Regions from separate parts of the Homo sapiens genome. Here regions 1, 2, 4, 5, 6 and 7 are each linked to region 3. The links are contacts of gene promoters, found by promoter capture Hi-C in blood cells and fetal thymus (Javierre and others, 2016). All regions are on one chromosome and are shown on one strand. Each heading gives the region's core, a stretch centred on a gene start or on the middle of the fragment in contact. The rest is flanking DNA. Distances are from core to core; before and after follow the strand shown.

Region 1 (2,829 bases), core at 36-2,535, 790 kb before region 3:
TAGGCTGGGGAGTCTAGGTTCTCCTCCACATGGCCTCTTATCTGCCAGTAGGCTACACCAGCTTCCTTTTCATGATGGGTTAGGGCAGCCTCACCAGAAGTCAAAGGTGGAAGCTACAAGCCTTTTGAGGCCGAGGCTCTGGAACCATGCAACATCACTTCTGCGATATTCTATTGATCAAAGCAACTCTCAAACCAGGCTAGATTCAGGGAGTGTAGAAATAGATTCCATTTCTTGATGGGAAGAGCTGCAAAGTCACATTGTAAAGGAGCGTGCATATTGAGTGGGAGGAATCTGTGACCATTAAGCAATCTACCATAGTATCATCATTATCATTATCATTATCATTATCATCATCATCATCATCACCACCACCACCCACTATCTCTGTTTTATAGATACCCAGCTGAAACTTAAAAAGGAACTTGCCCAAGATTAAATGACTAGGGAATAACAGACCAAGAAGAGTATACACACACACACACACACACACACACACACACACACTCCCCTAAACATCTAGTCACATATTCTCTTACATAGTGTGCCTGATAATAAAGGTAAATGCCAAGGAGGACATGATTTGAAATCCAGCAATCACTCCTCTCTAATGCTACTGCAAGATTGTCCTATGTTGGCTATTGGGGATCAGAGTATTCCCTGCCGTTCTCCTTTTCTCTCTCTCTTCTCACATCCTTACCTGCCAGTGTGAGGGGTCTGACTTTGGAAGTTTGTATACTTGGGCCGGTACTTGACCTCAAAACTCTGTGGTGCTCTCTCTCTTCTAGCCCCCAACCCTGAGCAGTAAATGAATTAACACATATCATAGGCCTAGAGTAGTGCCTGAATGATAGTAAAATAGTGTTTAATTAATTTTAGCTGCCATTGTTGTTATTGTCACTTTTATAAATAGTATTATGTGGATTGCGTGTCTTCACAAGGACAAAATCGATAGAACAGGAAACTTGTCTATGGTATGAGTCAGGAAATACTTTGATCAATTGTTCGCCAAGTATGGACCCTAGTCCCAGAACTTATTAGACATGCAACCACTTGGACCCTATTCTAGACCTAATAAATCAGAAGCTGGGACTCTGTGTCAGAGAAACCTGGCTTAAATCCCAGTGGTGATATCTACTAGTTACTCAAGTCCCACTCATTTCTTCTTTAACTTAAGGATAGTTATGGGTACTCACTCTGCCTCATAAGACAGGATTAAATTCTGATTAAGTAAAATGTTTTCGAATACTGGCTAGGCCTGATGCAGTGGTTTACACCTATAATCCCAGCACTTTGGGAGGCCGAGGTGAGCAGATCACTCAAGCCCAGGAGTTCGAGACCAGCCTGGGCAACAGGGCAAAACCCTGTCTCTGCAAGAAAAAATAAAAAAATTAAAAATTACCCAGATATGGTGGTGCGTGCCTGTGATCCCAGCTACTGGGGAGGCTAAGGCAGAAGGATCATTTGAGCCCAGGAGGCCAGGGCTGCAGTGAGCTGTGATCATGCCCCTGCACTCCAGCCTGGATGACAGAATGAGACCCTGTTTCAAAACAAACAAACAAACAAAAAACAAACAAGAACACTGGCTATACATGATAAATATTCAATAGTTTTAGCTATTAATACTAGCTTCTCCTTGTTCCTGCTTCATCATTCCTACCTTGCCTTCTTCACAGGGTGTTAAAAACCAGATGAGTCAACATATTATGTGAAAATACTTTGAAAGGGATAAAATGCAGAACATGCATTAGAAATGTTACTGGCTGGTTCTGATACTGCTAAATATCTCTAAATCTTTCCCTGCCCACCCACCCTTGCTCCGGCCTGGGAGAAGGATTGCATTTCCTCAGTTCATGAATAGCCATTGTGGTACTGGTCTGGGCTTTCACAGTTTTGTGTTTCCTTCTATTTGGCCTTCAAAGAGATCACAGCCCAGTGTGAGTCTCCAGATAAATGAGGAGGCAAATGCAGAAAACACCCCACCCCTGCAAATGCAGAAAACTCCACCCCCTGCAAGTCTGGGATAACCTCCTATATTGGGGTCACTTAAAGTATGCAGGGGAGACACCCCGCTGCTACTACTGTTCTGTAGCCAGAACTAAAGATGGGAAAAAATTCCCCTTCACTGAGGCAAATGCCTGGAGGGAGGAGGGCAAAGAAGTAGCGGGGGAGAGGGGGAAAGGAAACCATCCTCTGATCCTTCATCTCGACTCCTAGATTGACTAGTGTGAATGGATACTATATAAACAGACTCTGAGACTGCTGATGCTACAAAAAAGGCCACTTGGGAAATAACATATTGTGGGGAGGATACGTTTCAAAAGAACTTAATTTATAATTAACATCTTTCAAGCCTAATTCTAACATGGACTATAGTTTTCTTAATTTGCCAGTTAAAGTGGACTACCATGTGCCAATAGCATAAAGATGGTCTACAATTCACTGGACCCCACCAGCCTGAAAATCTCAAGGATTTTTATTCTCTTTCATTTTCTTTTAGTGATGGGCGATTTGCATTGTTTTCCATTTTGTGCACAAAAAGACCATGTTGCTATTTTGTGAACATATAGTTAACCCTTGAACAACATGGTTTTGAACTGTGCAGGTCCATTTATACGGGACTTTCTTTCAACCAAATGCAAATGAAAAATACATTATTGGTGGAATTTGTAACTCAGGTATACAGAGGACCAACTTTTGTATATGCAGGTTTTGCAAGGCCAACTATTTTACTTGAGTATGTGGAGATTTGGTTATACATAAGGGTCCTGGAGTCAATCCACCCCCATACTGAGGGATGACTGTATAATCATATGCACATAAAATACA
Region 2 (2,700 bases), core at 81-2,580, 740 kb before region 3:
CACATCAGAGCCAGCCACCACTAAGCAACACAAATTTGAAGATCTAACACCAGGCAAGAAATACAAGATACAGATCCTAACTGTCAGTGGAGGCCTCTTTAGCAAGGAAGCCCAGACTGAAGGCCGAACAGGTAATTAGCACAGCATAATGTTTTGTAGCACATATTGCCAATGTCTGCTATTGTGTAAGAACCCCAGGGTGAGAGGGATGAAGCAACATTGGGAGATGATATCTATCTCTTGATACGCTGGGAACATTCACCCTGATTTGCCACTTCCATGTCAGTTGCCCTATCCACGCAGGACTCAGCCCACCACACTCTGTTTCTGATTTTTCATTAATATTGGTGCTATTAGCTTCCTATTGCTGCTATAATAAACTATCACAATCTTAGTGGCTTAATACCACCCAAATTTATTATTTTCTAGTCCTGAAGATTAGAATCTGAAAATGGTTTTTTGGGACTGAAATCAAGACAACAGGGCTGTGTTTCTTGTAGACACTTTAGAGGGAGAATCCACTCCTTGCCTTTTTCAGCTTCTGAGGCCGCCCACATTCCTTGGCTCGTGTCCCCCTCCCAACAGTGACATTGCTCCAATCTCTGCATGGGACCTTACATCTCTTTCTCTGCTCTCCTGCCTCCCTCTTCCATCTTTTAAGGACTCTTGTGATTACCTTGGTCACCAACCGGACAATCCAGGATAATTCCTTCGTCTCAAGATCCTTAACTTAATCACATCTACAAAGCCCTTTTTGCCACAGAAGGTAACATATTCACAGGTTCTGGGGGTTAGGACATGGACATCTTTGGGGCCATTATTCAGACAACCACATTGGCCTAATTGATTGATAACTTATTTATTAAGTACATAGGTCTGAAGGCGGGGATGGTTATGTTGACAGGGACATAAAGATGAATCAGGCATGCTTCTCGTCCTTAAAGAGCTGACTGACGAGACAGACACATGGACAAATAATGGCAATGCATTGTGATAAAGAGTACATATAAGAGAGGGATGTCTGGCATTCAGGGAAGCATGGAGGTCAGGTAGAATTGAGACATCTTCATAAAAGTGACATTTCAGTACTGCCTTGAAGGATGAAGAAATTCTCCTTATGGAGAGAAGGTAGAATACTTTGTACAGACAGTCTGTCCTGTGCAAAGGCCAAGAGGTATGAACAGGAGAAAGGAGAAGTTGTGGGTGGCTGAAATGTGTGTTGCATGATGGAAAGGTGAGACTGAAAGCCAGATTGGAGCCAAATTAGAGGGTGCCTGGTAGCCTTCCTCAGGAATTTTATCTTAAAGCAATACAAAACTTTTAGCCAGAGAGTAATTGTTTTGTAATAAAAGATGTATCTTTAAAAAGATAAATCAGATAGCAATGGGGGAATGGATTGAATGGAAATGAACCAGAAGTGAGGAGATCCACCTATCAATTCATTTATTATTGAGTACCTACTATAGGCTAGGCACTGTTCTAACTGCTGGATATACAGAAGTGAATAAAAAAACTCCCATGGTCATTATGTTTATAGTCTAGTGGGGAAGAAAGTCAATAAATAAAATAAATAAGTAAAAGATGTAGGAGGTTGGGTGGTAATAAAGACCAAGAAGGAAATTAAGTTAGGAAGGTGGGATAGCAAGAGTTGGGGCTTACAATTTTATCTATCTATTTATTATTATTATTATTATTATTATTATTATTATTATTATTATTATTTATTATTTTTGGAGACAGAACCTCGCTCTGGCACCCAGGATGGAGTGCAGTGGCACAATCTCAATTCACTGCAACCTCTGCCTCCTGGGCTCAAACAATCCTCCCATCTCAACCTCCCAAGTAGTTGGGACTTCAGGCATGTGCCACCACACCCAGCTAATTTTTGTATTTTCTTGTAGACACAGGGTTTCTCCACATTGCCTAGGCTGGTCTCGCACTCCTGGGCTCAAGAAATCCACCTGCCTCAACCTCCCAAAGTGTTGGGATTACAGGCACGAGCCACCACGCCTGGTCAAGGGGCTTACAATTTTTTTTTTTTTTTTTTGAGATGGAGTCTCCCTCTGTTGCCCAAGCTGGAGTGCAGTGGTGCGATCTTAGCTCACCACAACCTCCACCTCCTGGGTTCAAGCAATTATCCTGCCTCAGCCTCCCGAGTGCATACCGAGTGGGACTACAGGTATGCACCACTACACCCGGCTAATTTTTATATTTTTAGTAGAGACAGGGTTTCACCATGTTGGCCAGGCTGGTCTTGAACTCCTGACCTCAGGTGATCCACCCTCCTCAGCCTCCCAAAGTGCTGGGATTACAGGCATGAGCCACTGCACCTGGTCGGGACTTACAATTTTAGATAGTACAGTCCCCAAAGACTTCATTGAGGCAGTGACATTTGAGTAAAAATCTGAAAGAAATGAGAAAGTCATGCAAATATTTGGGTATTTATAAGCAGAGCCAATGCCAACACAAAGACCTTGAGTGGGTGTGTGTCTGACCTGTTGGAGGAACAGTAAAGAGGCCCATATGGCTGGAACAGAGTGAGCGAGGATGAGTGGTGGGGATGCAGATGGACAGGTAATGGGGGTCATGACATGACTGCAGTCATAGGATGATAAGGACCAATAGCTGAATGAATGCAGGGGCCCTGGTGAAGAATAGTGGGTACAGTCAAGAAATATTTTTGCATTAGCTTAAGTGGCA
Region 3 (2,700 bases), core at 201-2,700:
GTAACAAGCTGTAGAGGGGACTTGTAGAAACTATATCCATAGAAACCTCCAAAAATAGTATAAACAAGGACAGTATAGGGATCCCATAGAAATAAAAGCTCTTTCAAAAAACAGAAGGTAGACCAAATTCGATATTCAGGTCTTCCCTAGCTCTAGAAGGAAATGGAGTAGATTTTTGCATGTATACAATAAATTGCTGGTTTCTCTAAAATAGATGCAATGGTAGATTGAAGCTTGCCACCTGCTGCTCAAACGAAAATTATATATGATATAAAATCAGGCAATAACAGTCTAGCAACACTAGTGTGCCTACCATGTGCCAAGCATGACCCAGGTAGACAATACCAACTTGGCCACTGTCAGAGACAGAACACTCAATGGGATGGATGGTAGGACAAGATAATGTGATAATTCTCTTGGTCTTATGTTTCTTCTTGCCATTTCTGGAAAAACCCAAGCCACAGAAACTACCCCATGGTGTTGATTCCTCCCAATAGTGACATAGAATCTCACTATTTCTTTGGTACGCCCCGTCACTCTTTAGTGTTCAGCATTGTTTACTATTCAGCCCATTCCATTCAACTTTTAAATATATATTATTTGTCAGGCACTTTACAAAGCACAAGAAATACCTAAAGCACTTTTCTCGATGTGCTGCTGACTGATCCCTAGATTCTGTAAATGAGCAGGTCTTCCCTCACTTCTTCTCATACTCCCTCATGCAAAATACCTTACCGTGTAAAAATGATGGTCACGTTTCCCTTCACATGGAATTTGAGCATGGCTATGTAGTTTTTTTAAACATAGGGCATGGGAAAAAATAAAATCTAGTACAGGACAGGGACAAGTAATAACAACATAAATATGCTGACCCCTTGATTCTAACAACCAAACTATAAGATGAAAATCCTGTTTTGTTTAAAATCTCTATCCATACCATTGAATTTTGCTCCCAATGTAGCAAATAAACCCCTACTTTTGATATTAGGAGAGTTACCTAAGTATGATAGCATTTCTTTCAAAACAAAGTTTAAGTGAATACGGAAAAGGTGAAACAGGGATAGTGAGCATTTCTCAGAAGCAGCAAATTCATGCTGGAAATTGGCCTCTTACCTTCAAAGAACTGCTGCAGGGCCTCATTTTCGCCTACCACATCCATGGTACTGTGATCCTAGTACTATTTCCTCATAAAACAACGGTTATCAGACCTCAGGAAATAAGTACTGTCCTTTTGATTCGAAGCCTACGAATGCTCTTGAAAAATCTTCATTTTCTTTTTATTGGAGTGAAGCATATCTTCAGCCATCAAATTGTGCCCAGAAAGATGGTTGAGTTTTCAAATGTGATTATAAAACTGGAAGGATATACAACCATACATTTAAAAAAAATTCATGAAGAGGGAAGAGGTAGCAAATTCATCTGTCTTAATATAAGGAACTGTTTCTACTCTGCTTTTCGTCTTTAAGGACCTTTGTCCTTAGTGACACATGCAATTACATAAATGGGCAATAAATACATAGTCTTATCTCATATTTGTCCTTTTACACCAATATATTTATATCTCCACCTTTATCAACTAGATCCACTTAGCTACCACCAATAAAACATACTTATTTTTTTAACCTAGAAAAAAGGGATAAATCAATATAATTACTTTTATAGATACCTATCATCACAGGTAATTTTAAAAGGCTTGTGATAATGAAAAGTTAGAATTTGTTAAGTATTTCCAAACTTACAGCAAAAACTTAAATTCCTTAATACATACCTGTTCCATTTCCTCTAGAGCTTATTTGCTTCCAAAGCATAAACCATAAAGTATGAGAAGTCTCTCTAACAAGCAACGAAAACTGCATTACCAATTTAATAATTCTTACAGTTGAGTCACTAGTAACTTGATTCACTCCTAAATATAAAACCATACCCGAATAAATGTTTTGTTTTCACTGCTTAGCTATAATTCATTTAACAATAGCCTAAGAAAATACAATTAGGAAATTAAATTATCCTTTCGCCCCTTCCTTTTCTTTTTTCCCAACTATTTGGAAAAAAAATAGTATCATAAAATATCCATATACTCTTCATCTACACTTACCAATTATTGACACTCTCTCATATATATATATATATACACATACATATATATACATATATATATACATATATACATATATATATGAGACAGAGTGGTAGCAGTGGATATGGATATGTGTGTGGATATGGATATGTGTGTGGAAGGATATGGATATATATATATCCATATATAGTTTGTTTATATATATATCCATATAGTTTTTATATATATAGTTTATTTCTAATTTTTATGGATACACAATAGTTGTACATATTTATGGGGTACATATATTTTGATACAAACATACAATGTGTAATGATCAAATCAGGGTAATTGGGGTATCCATCACCTCAAACATTTATCATTTATCATTTATGTTGGGAACATTCCAAATCCACTCCTTTATTGTGAAATATAAATTATTGTTAACTGTATTTACCCTATTGTGCTACCAAACACTAGATCATATTCCTTCTATATATTTTTGCACCCATTACCCAACCCCTCTTTATCCCCTCACCCCCTAACCCCTATTACCCTTCCCAGCCTCTGCTATCCTCCTTTGCATTCACTACCTATAGTGGTAGATTCTGAATGTATATATATATATATATATATCCATACCC
Region 4 (2,700 bases), core at 13-2,512, 720 kb before region 3:
GAATAGGCAAATCCACAGACACAGAAAGTAGATTAGTGGTTGCCAGGGATCGCGGGGAGGGAGGAGTGGGACTGACTGCTAATAGGTACGCGGTTTCTTTTGAGGGTGATGAAAATGTTTTAAAATTGATTGTGGTGACATTTGCAAAACTTTGACTATACTAAAGACCACTGAATTGTACAACTTAGATGGGTGAGTTGCATGCTATATGAATGATATTTCAATAAAGCTATTTTAAAAATGAGGCCACTCTTACCTCTTCATAAACTCCCAGTAGCGTTACCATACCAGATAATAAAAATAAGACTTCTTAGAATAGCTCCAAGCAATCCACTGGATTTTCCAAAGCCCCAGATGCTGTGTAACATGTTTTATATAAATGAAATGGCATTTTTATCTTGGTGGCAAACTTATGGCCTTTATCTCAGGTGCCCCAAGCTTTATATACAAGTGCAAAGTCCAAAATTCCTCTATAAGCTATGCAACATTAACTTCAAAAGTATGCAGTGACACCTGGCCTCACTGCTACAGGGTGGGAGCCAGCCTTTCATCATCTTCTTAGGTGCATACTCAGAGCCTTTGGAAAGTAAATGCCTCATCGTGGGCATCACTTGAATTCTATTTGTAATAACATTACTTGGGAGATATGGCTTCAATAGCTTTCTTACTGGTTCCCTAGCACTAATTTTCCCACCTGCGTTTGTTGTTTCTATCTGGATTATTGTAGAGCCCTTGTTTGGAGCTATTGAAGGTGTGAGTGCTGGTCTGTTTTTAATTGGCATGCTAGTGGCTGTTGTTGCCTTATTGATCTGCAGACAGAAAGTGAGGTAAGTACAAAGATCCTTTTGGTGATTGGACCCACAACTTTAAAAATGCAACTGAAAATTCCCTTTAGGCTGAAAACTAAGAAGGGAAAATAATTTAATTTTTCCAGGTTAAATTGTCACTGTTTTCTCAATAAAAACAAGTCAAACTCTAAAGCCATGACTCACTTTTCTCAGCTCTTTTATATCCCATTGATGAATTCAGCCCTTACCAAAGGACTGAGGGGCCATCTATAGCTTTATTTAAAGATGAAGTGACTCCTTTTGCACAGGAAAAAAATATTTTGTGTGTGTGTGTGGTTCATATCCTCATGAAGACAGAGATGTTTGCAAATTGCATGCCCAAGTGCTTTTCTGAAATATCCTGAAAAGTGTGGTTGACATCACCATTTTGTAGTTCATATCTGCCATCCTAATTTAAGAAGGGACCAAAAAGAACCAAATAGCATGTGGCCCCAAGTGTCGTGCCTTCTTCTCTTAGTGAATTTTTTTTCTTAATTTGGCACATGTTCCTCTTTATTGAAGTCGTGTCTGGCATCTGAAATTTACTGGATTTTTTTAAAGCAAAGTTTTATTGAGAATGTGGGAAGTGATTATAACCTGTAGCCAAAAACCAGGAGACAAATCTTCAGTTTTTGCAGAGATCCGTTTCTGGGTGGGAATGATCTACTTTATTCTCTTTCCTTTCCCTCCCTCAGAGATGTTGGCTGAGTGCAAATCTGTATGAATACTGAAAAATCCATATTTGCACAAACATCCACAGCCTTACCATAAATGGAAAAATTTGTTCAAGCCAAGTATCATAATCAGAATAAAAGTTATCTCCCTTATGTTTCAGCCATGGTCGAGAAAGACCCTCTGCCCGTCTGAGCATTCGTAGGGATCGACCATTATCTGTCCACTTAAACCTGGGCCAGAAAGGGTAAGCACCACATTTGCCTTCGTATAATTTGTTGAAAGATGGTATTATGTGAAATTTGCTAACAAAGTCTTCCTCTTTTGGCTTCTCTTCACAGTAACCGGAAAACTTCTTGGTAAGAGAGAGAACACATTAATTACTATATTATCTGCCTTTGAAATATGAGTCAGAATAGTTATGGCACTTTCCCTTTTCTGCAGTAACTCTTTTCTGTTTGTTTCATTTTTAATTACAGTCCAATAAAAATAAATCAGTTTGAAGGGCATTTCATGAAGCTACAGGCTGACTCCAACTACCTTCTATCCAAGGAATACGAGGTACAACTCAGGCAGAATGAAGCTTCAGCATCCCTAGTTCTTAGCAGAATTTCCTTCCTAATGTTTACTGTGTCATCATAGGCTGATTGAGCTCAGAAGTTAGGAGGCTGCTTAGAATCTCAGCTGAGCACTCTTTTATGCCTAAACTATGCCCTGAATAGAATATACCATCTAATCTTAGAGGCCAGCTTGAGCTCCAGAATAACACAGCAAACCAAGGGCTACCTGGATCAGATAGTAAGGAAGAATTAACAAATCTCAAATGCAGACCTAAAGCTGTCAGATATTCAGCCTGGCCATTTGCTTGGCTGGAAGATGCCGTGGTTTCGCAAAAAGCACGTAGCTTTTGGAACTGATTCTCAGGTTTGCCACTTGGGTGACCTGGGGCACATCAGTTATCCTGACTGAGCCTCACCTGTAAAATAGTGAGACCACCACCTCCCTTGTGGGGCTGTTGTGGGGATCAGGGCTAATGCATGTTGAGTACTAGGCATTCATAAACAATAGCTAGTGTATATATTTTCATGTTATTATGTTATCTCCAGGACTGTATGATTTGCTTTATTCTATTTCATATTCTCCACTTACAAACTCATATTTGACCTAACAGGAGTTAAAAGACGTGGGCCGAAACCAGTCA
Region 5 (2,743 bases), core at 18-2,517, 770 kb before region 3:
AGTCCAAGGCGGGTGGATCACGAGGTCAGGAGTTCGAGACCAGCCTGGCCAACACAATGAAACCCTATCTCTACTAAAAATATAAAAATTAGCTGGGCGTGGTGGCAGGCGCCTGTAATCCCAGCTACTCAGGAGGCTGAGGCAGGAGAATCGCTTGAACCCAGGAGGCGGAGGTTGCAGTGAGCCGAGATCATGCCACTGCACTCCAGCCTCAGCGACAGAGCTAGACTCCATCTCAAAAAAAAAAGAAAATACAAAAATTAGCTGGGCATGGTGGTGTGCACCTGTGGTCCTGGCTACTCATGAGGCTGAGGTGGGAGAATCACTTGAGCCCAGGAGGTTGAGACTGCAGTGAGCCATGATCACGTCACTGGACTCCAGCCCGGGTGACAGAGCAAGGCCCTGTCTCAAAAGAAAATAAGGAAGACACTTAGAAGGCTTTCAAAGTAATCCAACACAAAATGAAGGGACTCCAGGTAAAGGCAATAAAATAAGGAAAAAAGGGAACAGGCAAGAAAAATATTATTTTCGAAAAGGGAACTTTCATGCTCACAGAATTAGATTTAGCTGTTACTACTGTTGTTACTCATTTTGACTATGCTACAGTAGCAAACCAACATCTGAAAAATTCTATAAATATGCCTATCATTTTCCGTAGACATCTATTTTTATTTTTTGTCATTACACTGAATATGCAATTCATGACATCATTTCCCACACTAGGACAGCTAAGGTGTGATAGAGAGAAAACAGGATTTAGAGACAGGTATTGGAAGCTCAACTTTACTACCTGTTCCTATACAACACGAGTGAGTCATTTAATGTCTCTGAGCCCCTATTCCAACTGAGAAAGCATGTTGTAGATTATCAGGTCCTATACAGATGTAATGTGGTGCTGTCGTGCCTTTAAGAAAAGCTTTTGGCACCAACTCATGGATTGGCTGCCCTTTTTGTTATAAGGTTGAATTTATTTCTATAGCAAATACAATCACTTCTAATTCTAAAGAGTCTAGACATTTCTATATCAATAAATACTAATGTTTTAATGACCATGCTGTCACAAAAACAATTAAGAAGCAAATATCATTTGTGCTATAAATATAGCTTTCTTTCTCTTTCTAAATAACATTAAAAAAAAAAAAAAAACAGGGTCTTTCTATGTTGCCCAGGCTGAAGTGCAGTAGCTATTCACAGGCACTATTATGATGCACTATAGCCTCCAATACCTGGACCCAAGCAACCCTCCTGCCTCAGCCTCCTGAGTAACTGGAACTAAGGGCACACATCATCACACTTGGCTTCCTAAGTCACATTTAAAAAAAAGAAAAGGAAAAAAGAATTCATTTTGGTTCAGGAATTTTGCCATACTTTGTCTTTTCTTTTGAGAAAAGAAAAATTGTGTTGACGTCAAGCCTGCTTATGGAACTCTGGGGCTTTCTGGTGCTGGTAGATTTATTCAAGTATATACAATGAATATTATAGAACTTACTGTTGTTATTCATTTTGACTATGCATTTGTCATTCCATATTTCAGGTCTGTTGGGAACCAAGAATTACAAAGTGCTCTAAATTTATGGCTAATGATAAATATTGATATATTAATCAAGACTAAAGCTTTGATTTATTATTTTTTGATTTGATTTATTATTAGTTCTCATATTTTATAATACTTCACTGGTTACTATGCGTATGAGTGTGATGATTGGAAAAACCAGAGGCTATAAATGCACACATCTGTGCATTGATACCTTTAACCATTCACATAAATTATATAAGTCAAGTAGGATTTCCTAATTATGTACGATCTGTCATATGATCAGAAGACTATAGGTACATGACTAAATTTTCAAGTAGCATTAAAAATTTTCTCTTTCTCCATATATATATCTATATACATATATTTAATACATACACACACAGTCATATTATATGAAATGTGCACCCCTGATAGAAGTATCTAATAAAATTTTGAAAACTTTTTAAATCCATCAGAGTTTTTATTGGGCTTAGATTTAAAGGGAGTCTGAAAACTATTTAGTTTCTGCAGCATGCATAGCAATAGTGGACAACTGCCAGCAAAGGGCTTTATCACAGTATAAATGGGGTTTTAAGTGTTTGTTTCCAGTGCAGGTTCTCGCAGCCCAGGCACTTCCCAGTCTCATTGTTCCTTTGTTCTAGCGGATGTACAAAGGATTGACTGTTTTGTTTTCTGGCTCAGAAAGATTAGATAAAGTCTGCATTTCTGAACTTCACCCTCTAGACACGCAACCTTAAAATTTATTTCTATATCTCATATTTTGTGGATTATATATGTTTGGATTCTACTGATCATGACATTATTTTTTAAAATTTTTATCTGGCTTGATAGTACATGTAGATGATAGTATTGATCCCTTTTGAACTATCACTGGAAGCAGCTGTCCCTCTCATCCTTGTCCTTAAAATGCCACTTCAGCAAAAGTATGTCATCTCAATTGGGTACGACAGCATTGTTCTTGAGTTTCACTGGCTATTAGAATCTCATAGACTCCTCTATATCTTGTTACTTTTCAAAACTGCCTTGGAATATAAGTATTATTATTATACTCCCCAGATAGGAAAGTGGAGGCTTAGACAGGTTAAATAGCTTGCCCAAAGTCTCATGACTTTGTTAGAGCTGAGATTTAAATTTAATTCTGACTCCAAAGCCCATGCTGTCTGCCATTACATTTCACTGCTTCTGTGGCAATATTTTCACCTAATT
Region 6 (2,913 bases), core at 211-2,710, 760 kb before region 3:
AGATATTTTCCTTAAGTTCCAACTCTGTGTTTAAAGTTACTTTCTCTCAGCACATAAAAGATATTATTCTAGTCTTTCTGGGATTTATTGTTGCGCTGAGTCAGCTGTCAGTCTGATTTTTATTTCTCTATGAGTCTGTTTGCTATGACTGCTTTTTTGCCTTTGGGGTTCAGTTGTTTCACAATAATGATCAAGGTGTAGATATATTTCTTTTTGTTTCTCTTGCTCAAGATTGATTGGCATTTCTGTACTTTCCAACTAGTGTCTTTCTACAATCCTGGAAATTCTCAGCTATTAACTCTCTAATATTGCCTCTTGCCCCTTCTCCATTCCCCACTCTGTCATCTTCTGGTATTCTAGAACACACATATATGAACACATCAATATATTTCATATTTTCCATGTGTTTTCTCTCTGAACTACAGTATAGGTAACTTTCTCATATCTTTGATTCATTTCATTAATTCTTTCTTCAGCTTTGTCTAATCTATTTTAAAATCTACCCACTGTTTTAAATTTTAATTGTTATGTTCACTTTTAAGCATTCTCTTTGGCTCTCTTTCAAATTTATGTTGTGCTCTGTTGCTCTTTAGTTATATTTTCATTCCCCTCCTGTATTGTTATATGCAAATTAACAATGTTTATTTTCCATCCTATGTCTGATAATTATAATAGCTGAAATCTTCAGGAGTTAAGTTCTGTTGTCTTTTGATTTTCCTGCCTTTTGTTTATGTTGCTTTATTTCTTTAAATGTATGTGATTTCTTTTTACTGTAAGCCTGTTTTCCCTAGAATTTTATTCTGTGGAAATTATTTAAGGCCATGTTTGAAGGTGAGTTTCAGAAAGAATTTTCATTTGATTCTTTCAGGTGCACAAGACTGCTATCAAACCAGACCTACTTTAATCTAAATTGTCAACTTTAGGTTCTTTGATCACCTGGGTTTTATAAATTCAGGTTGCAAACACATTGAAACTATCTTAAGGTTATGAGTTCTCAGAGGAAATCGTTTTCTCCATCCAGTATTAAGAAGGCTGAAGTTGTATGGGGAGTAAAGAGAGACTATTTATTTCACTTATACTTAGAATGTAGCCTTTCCAATGTTATGCAAGGTCAGCTATGAGTTTCTTCAGCCTGGAAAAATCTACACTTTACCTCCTTTCTCCAATATCCTGCAGTGCTATAAAATCAAAGCTTACATTTGCATTTGAAAGGTGCTCTCAACACAACAGTTCGCTTTATGATCCAATTACCTCTCTATCCTTTACTTTTTGGCCTTTGAGAATCTCTTACATTCCTGACAAGTCATTCATTTACATTTTCACATTTTATCCAATATGTATAGTTGTGTTTATTAGAAGGATTTTCATGGTATCTAGCCTATCATACTGCCAGAAAGGGAAGTCCAAGACATTGTTTTAGACCTAAGGTCATTTTTATCATCCCCACCACCCATATTGCTGGGTCATATGGTAAATGCATGTTTAACTTTGTAGAAAACTGCCAAACTGCTTTCCAAAGTATTGTAAAATTTTACATTCCCACCAGCAATGTATGAAATTTCCACTTCCTCCGTGTTCTCAGCATGTAGTACATGGTATTAGCAGTTTGTTTTAAAATTTAGCCATTCTAATGGAATAGCCATTATAATAAGATAATGATAGCTCATGTGGTTTTAATTTGCCTTTTTCTAATGTCTAATGGGTTTGAGAATCCTTTCACAAGCTTATTTGTCACCCATTTATCTTTTCTGGGGAAGTTTTTGTTCAAATATTTTGCTGGATTTTAAAATAGGATTGTTTGTTTGTCCTTGGTCAAAATGTTTTCTGTCGGTTTTTCATTTTGATGTCCAATTTATCAGTTTTTTTCTTTCATAAATCATGCTGTGGTGTCATATCTAAAAATATTTGCCTAAATCAAGGTCACAAAGGTTTTCTCCTAGAAGGTTATAGTTTTAGGTTTTAAATGTAGGTCTGCGACCCATTTTGAGTTAATTTTTATATATGATGTGAGATATAGGTGAAGGTTTTTTTCTTTGCATATAGACATCTGATAATTCTACCTCTATGTATTGAAAAGACTATCTTTTCTCCATGAAATTGCCTTTGAATCTCTAAAAAATCCATTGATAGCATATTCTTCTATCTCTGGGCTCTCAATTCTGTTCTATCAATCTATGTTTCTGTCTGCCCTTTGCCAGTATTATCCTGTCTTGATTACAAGATTTTTAGTGAAATCAGGTGGTGTTAGTCCTCTAACTTTATTCATCTTTTTCAAAATTGCTTTGGCCACTGTAGCTGTTTGCCTTTCATATAAAATTTAGAATTATAATTGAATCTTTAGAATTGAATCTGATCCATATACAGTAGGATTTTTTTAATGAACGCTTTTGTATCTTAATCCAGAAGTCAATGAACTTTGAGAAAGAGGGGTGCCAAGGTTCCAGTCCCTTTGATTATTGTAATTCAGGAAAGAGGCACAAAGAAGAATGTATGTTGACCAAGTGCCAACTTCAAGATCTGTGTATAAGATTTGTTAAATGATAAGTTGGAAGAAATAAATGTTGTTAATTAGGAAAAGGACACAGGCTTAGGGGTTAGATAAATCTAGCTTTCAGTTCCAGGTTGGCTATTTGTTAGCACTGTGATATAGGCTAAATTACTTACATTTTATGATCCTTGGTTTCCTTGTTAATAAATGGAATAATAAAGTCAACTTTATAGAGTTCTGAATGGGTGTCAAATAATGTAACCTTTATGAGACATATAGCTCATAACTGGCACATAGTAGGCCTTCAGTAGTTGTTGTTATTATCATTATTTTTTAATATATATATTATAATTTATATTATTATCACATGTTCATGTATAATAACAGCCCCTTTAAGAATGTGCCAGTATAGAACTAATCAGTTT
Region 7 (2,703 bases), core at 80-2,579, 920 kb before region 3:
GTTGATATATGACTAATGCAGAGATTTACCAACATAAGAAACTGTGGTTTATGGCATAACTATTATTTTATTAATACTTGCAAGACTACTTTTTTCTACTAAGCCATGTTGGATGTATATCTCCATTTCTATAAATGTCATAGACGTGTGTTTTACGGTTATTCCTTCTGTAAGCCTACCATTTCCCCATGTGACCAAACTAACATCTGGCATTTTTCATAAAATTGGTTAAATTTACTTTTGAATATATCTTTGTGGAACAGATTCATGTGCACAATTATTTGATACATATGTGCAGCATAACTGGAAATACCAAGTGTACTGTCTTGAGAAAAATCTCAATACCATGAAACTGAGAAATCATCTCTCAGAGGGCTTTGTTTACTTTATCGTTAAGCCTTTATTTTGGTTTGTCGGCCAGGGTGGGGTGGAGGAGATCATACTCTTGTTTAGTGTGAGAAAATGTGACAGGAGTTTTTTATATCTCCTTCTATAGATTCTTTACAGATTAAAAGAAAGATTTCAGCTTTCCTTAAGACAAGACAAAGAGAAAAACCAGGAGATCCACCTATCGCCCATCACATTACAGCCAGCACTGTCCGAGGCAAAGACAGTCCACAGCATGGTCCAACCTGAGCAGGCCCCAAAGGTACTGAATGTTGTCGTGGACCCTCAAGGCCGAGGTGCTCCTGAGATCAAAGCTACCACCGCTACCTCTGTTTGCCCTTCTCCTTTCAAAATGAAGCCCATAGGACTTCAAGAGAGGTAAGAGCTTGTTCTGTATACCCTACGTGTGGCTTTTTATAAAAAGAGTATTCATCAACTAAAAAAGAAAGAACTAGTAATGATTGACATAATTGGGTAGAATTGTTCACCACTAAATGGACAGTCAGATGAAGTAGTGTTTCTTGTCTCCCAAAGGAATCCAACTGTGTTAGATAAAATCTGTTAGGTATGTCTGATTCTGCTAAGCTTGTCTAGATTCAAGATGGTATAGATCCAAGCAAAGTTCATCTTCAACTACAAGACAATTTCTAGCTTATTGAGGTTCACTGACCTCACAAGATGCTATCTTGTTTAATTGTCATGAAACTCTGGTAGGTAGAAGACTGAGAATGAACTCAGAGTGTTTCCTGCAAAAGCCCACGTTGTCTGGAGTTAGGCAGGAGTTGATGCCACAGATTAATTTTTTTTAAAGTTTTAGCTCTGCATTTTTTAACCACAACAAACATTCAGTATCAAGATCCATGACACTGGACGGGCGCAGTGGCTCACGCCTATAATCCAAGTACTTTGGGAGGCTGAGGTGGGTGGATCACTTGAGGCCAGGAGTTCAAGACCAGCCTGGCCAATAGCCAGGTGAGGTGGCGCATGCCTGTAATCCCAGCTACTTGGGAGGCTGGGATGTGAGAATTGCTTGAACCTGGGAGGCAGACGTTGCAGTGAGCCGAGATAGCATCACTGCACTCCAGCCTTGGCAACAGAGTGAAACTCTATCTAAAGAAAAAAAAAATCCATGACATTATTTTTGTTGCCTTACCTTTTTTGTGATGTATTATACATGTGATTCACTTTATACCAATACATTTCCATTAAACGCAAATCCAATGTAAGAAAACTTGGATTTGCAAAATACATAAATGAGAGACTAATTCTTTGCCTCTCAAAAATATTAAGTAAAGCTTTCCCATGGCGTTTCTTAAAATAAGAAGCTTTAATTTTATATTTAAAACATGACTTGTAGTGTATCCAACTTTGAACACCAGGGTAGTGGGAGAGTAAGTTCTCAAAGTAATATCCCAGGTTCATTCTCCTCTTATTTTCCATGTCTCCATTTTCTAACCCCATATATTTTGTTGCCTGAGGTTTTTAAATCACATATATAAATTTTGAATATATTTCCCATGATACATCACAATGCCCTATGCAAATAGTTATGGTTTACACACACAAACACACCCTTCAGAAAATATAGCTTGGGATTTTAAGAACTGCAGAATACAAAATTGATCCTTCATAATTATTTGAAAGTATTGCCAAGGAACAATGGATGACATAAAAATAAAGGAATGTGTTTATCTCTAAAAGTCCTTAAACACTGAACCCTTTGACTCCACAACAGGAAGAAAACAGAGATTGATCAAGTCATTCTTTCCACCTCCTCCCCTAAAATACCTGTGGTTTCTTGATGGGCAATGTAGGTCTCCATGTGACATTCACTTACGTAGATATCACTAAATTGCTTTTTGTGATTCAGTGTGGAAAGGTAGAGAAAATGGAACTTTCTCCCTAAGGCTAACTGGGAGTCAGGAGAACTGGATTCCAGACCCAGCCCTGCCGTTCCTGGGTTTGGTGGCCTCACCTGAGTCATTCACTCATCTGGACCTCATTTTCTTCTAAAAGATAAAGAGGTTTAACTTGATTTTTTAGCTTCTTTCTGGTTCTTTTACTCTGGTCATCCACATTATTTTTGTGCTTTTATGTTTGCTTCAAAGAGGAACTTTGAAGCACAGACCTGGGCATCAGTGATGAACGAAGGGCCGGTGGCAAGAAAGGGTCTGCAGGCAATAGGAGGCCATGTTATCTATAGTAGATAACAATGAAGGGTCATAATGAAACTGATTAAAAGACAAATTTTTATTATCATCATGCACTACCAATTCTAAGCAAGGTCAGAATAAAATTGTCTAGGAAAGTAGCCAT

What was found. Contacts are between HindIII fragments. The CHiCAGO score rates a contact against its expected background, and 5 or more counts as called.
Region 1: a fragment that was not itself captured here is called in contact with the fragment with the promoter of MYRFL in region 3 in 1 of 17 cell types (naive B cells); the score reaches 5.2 in naive B cells.
Region 2: a contact is called between a fragment that was not itself captured here and the fragment with the promoter of MYRFL in region 3, in 2 of 17 cell types (monocytes and naive CD8 T cells). The highest score is 6.4, in monocytes.
Region 4: a contact is called between a fragment that was not itself captured here and the fragment with the promoter of MYRFL in region 3, in 3 of 17 cell types (M1 macrophages, M2 macrophages and M0 macrophages). The highest score is 6.7, in M1 macrophages.
Region 5: a fragment that was not itself captured here is called in contact with the fragment with the promoter of MYRFL in region 3 in 1 of 17 cell types (monocytes); the score reaches 6.0 in monocytes.
Region 6: a fragment that was not itself captured here is called in contact with the fragment with the promoter of MYRFL in region 3 in 6 of 17 cell types (M2 macrophages, M0 macrophages, naive CD8 T cells and 3 more); the score reaches 9.8 in M2 macrophages.
Region 7: a fragment that was not itself captured here is called in contact with the fragment with the promoter of MYRFL in region 3 in 6 of 17 cell types (M0 macrophages, M2 macrophages, naive B cells and 3 more); the score reaches 6.7 in M0 macrophages.

What each region holds. Positions count from the first base shown.
Region 1 is chr12:70,616,836-70,619,664 of GRCh38, reverse strand. The region is part of intron 3 of PTPRB (protein tyrosine phosphatase receptor type B); the gene reads left to right. Among named protein-coding and RNA genes, the nearest start is that of PTPRB, 19 kb to the left of the region's middle. The HindIII fragment of the contact is 3,466 bases long and covers 1-2,829 here.
Region 2 is chr12:70,563,866-70,566,565 of GRCh38, reverse strand. It overlaps PTPRB (protein tyrosine phosphatase receptor type B), which reads left to right. Exons shown (of 34, transcript NM_001109754.4): 15 at 1-131. All of the region lies in intron 8 of PTPRB-AS1 (PTPRB antisense RNA 1), which reads right to left. Among named protein-coding and RNA genes, the nearest start is that of PTPRB, 72 kb to the left of the region's middle. The HindIII fragment of the contact is 7,249 bases long and covers 1-2,700 here.
Region 3 is chr12:69,823,977-69,826,676 of GRCh38, reverse strand. It overlaps MYRFL (myelin regulatory factor like), which reads right to left and starts at 1,450. Exons shown (of 25, transcript NM_182530.3): 1 at 1,114-1,450. The coding sequence starts at 1,159. The HindIII fragment of the contact is 5,503 bases long and covers 236-2,700 here.
Region 4 is chr12:70,538,985-70,541,684 of GRCh38, reverse strand. It overlaps PTPRB (protein tyrosine phosphatase receptor type B), which reads left to right. Exons shown (of 34, transcript NM_001109754.4): 23 at 728-827; 24 at 1,663-1,746; 25 at 1,841-1,858; 26 at 1,979-2,060; 27 at 2,671-2,700. All of the region lies in intron 6 of PTPRB-AS1 (PTPRB antisense RNA 1), which reads right to left. Among named protein-coding and RNA genes, the nearest start is that of PTPRB-AS1, 72 kb to the right of the region's middle. The HindIII fragment of the contact is 1,644 bases long and covers 441-2,084 here.
Region 5 is chr12:70,598,380-70,601,122 of GRCh38, reverse strand. The region is part of intron 4 of PTPRB (protein tyrosine phosphatase receptor type B); the gene reads left to right. Among named protein-coding and RNA genes, the nearest start is that of PTPRB, 38 kb to the left of the region's middle. The HindIII fragment of the contact is 698 bases long and covers 919-1,616 here.
Region 6 is chr12:70,581,738-70,584,650 of GRCh38, reverse strand. The region is part of intron 9 of PTPRB (protein tyrosine phosphatase receptor type B); the gene reads left to right. Among named protein-coding and RNA genes, the nearest start is that of PTPRB, 54 kb to the left of the region's middle. The HindIII fragment of the contact is 531 bases long and covers 1,195-1,725 here.
Region 7 is chr12:70,743,880-70,746,582 of GRCh38, reverse strand. It overlaps PTPRR (protein tyrosine phosphatase receptor type R), which reads left to right. Exons shown (of 14, transcript NM_002849.4): 6 at 497-765. All of the region lies in intron 1 of LOC124902960 (a long non-coding RNA gene), which reads right to left. Among named protein-coding and RNA genes, the nearest start is that of PTPRB, 110 kb to the right of the region's middle. The HindIII fragment of the contact is 710 bases long and covers 975-1,684 here.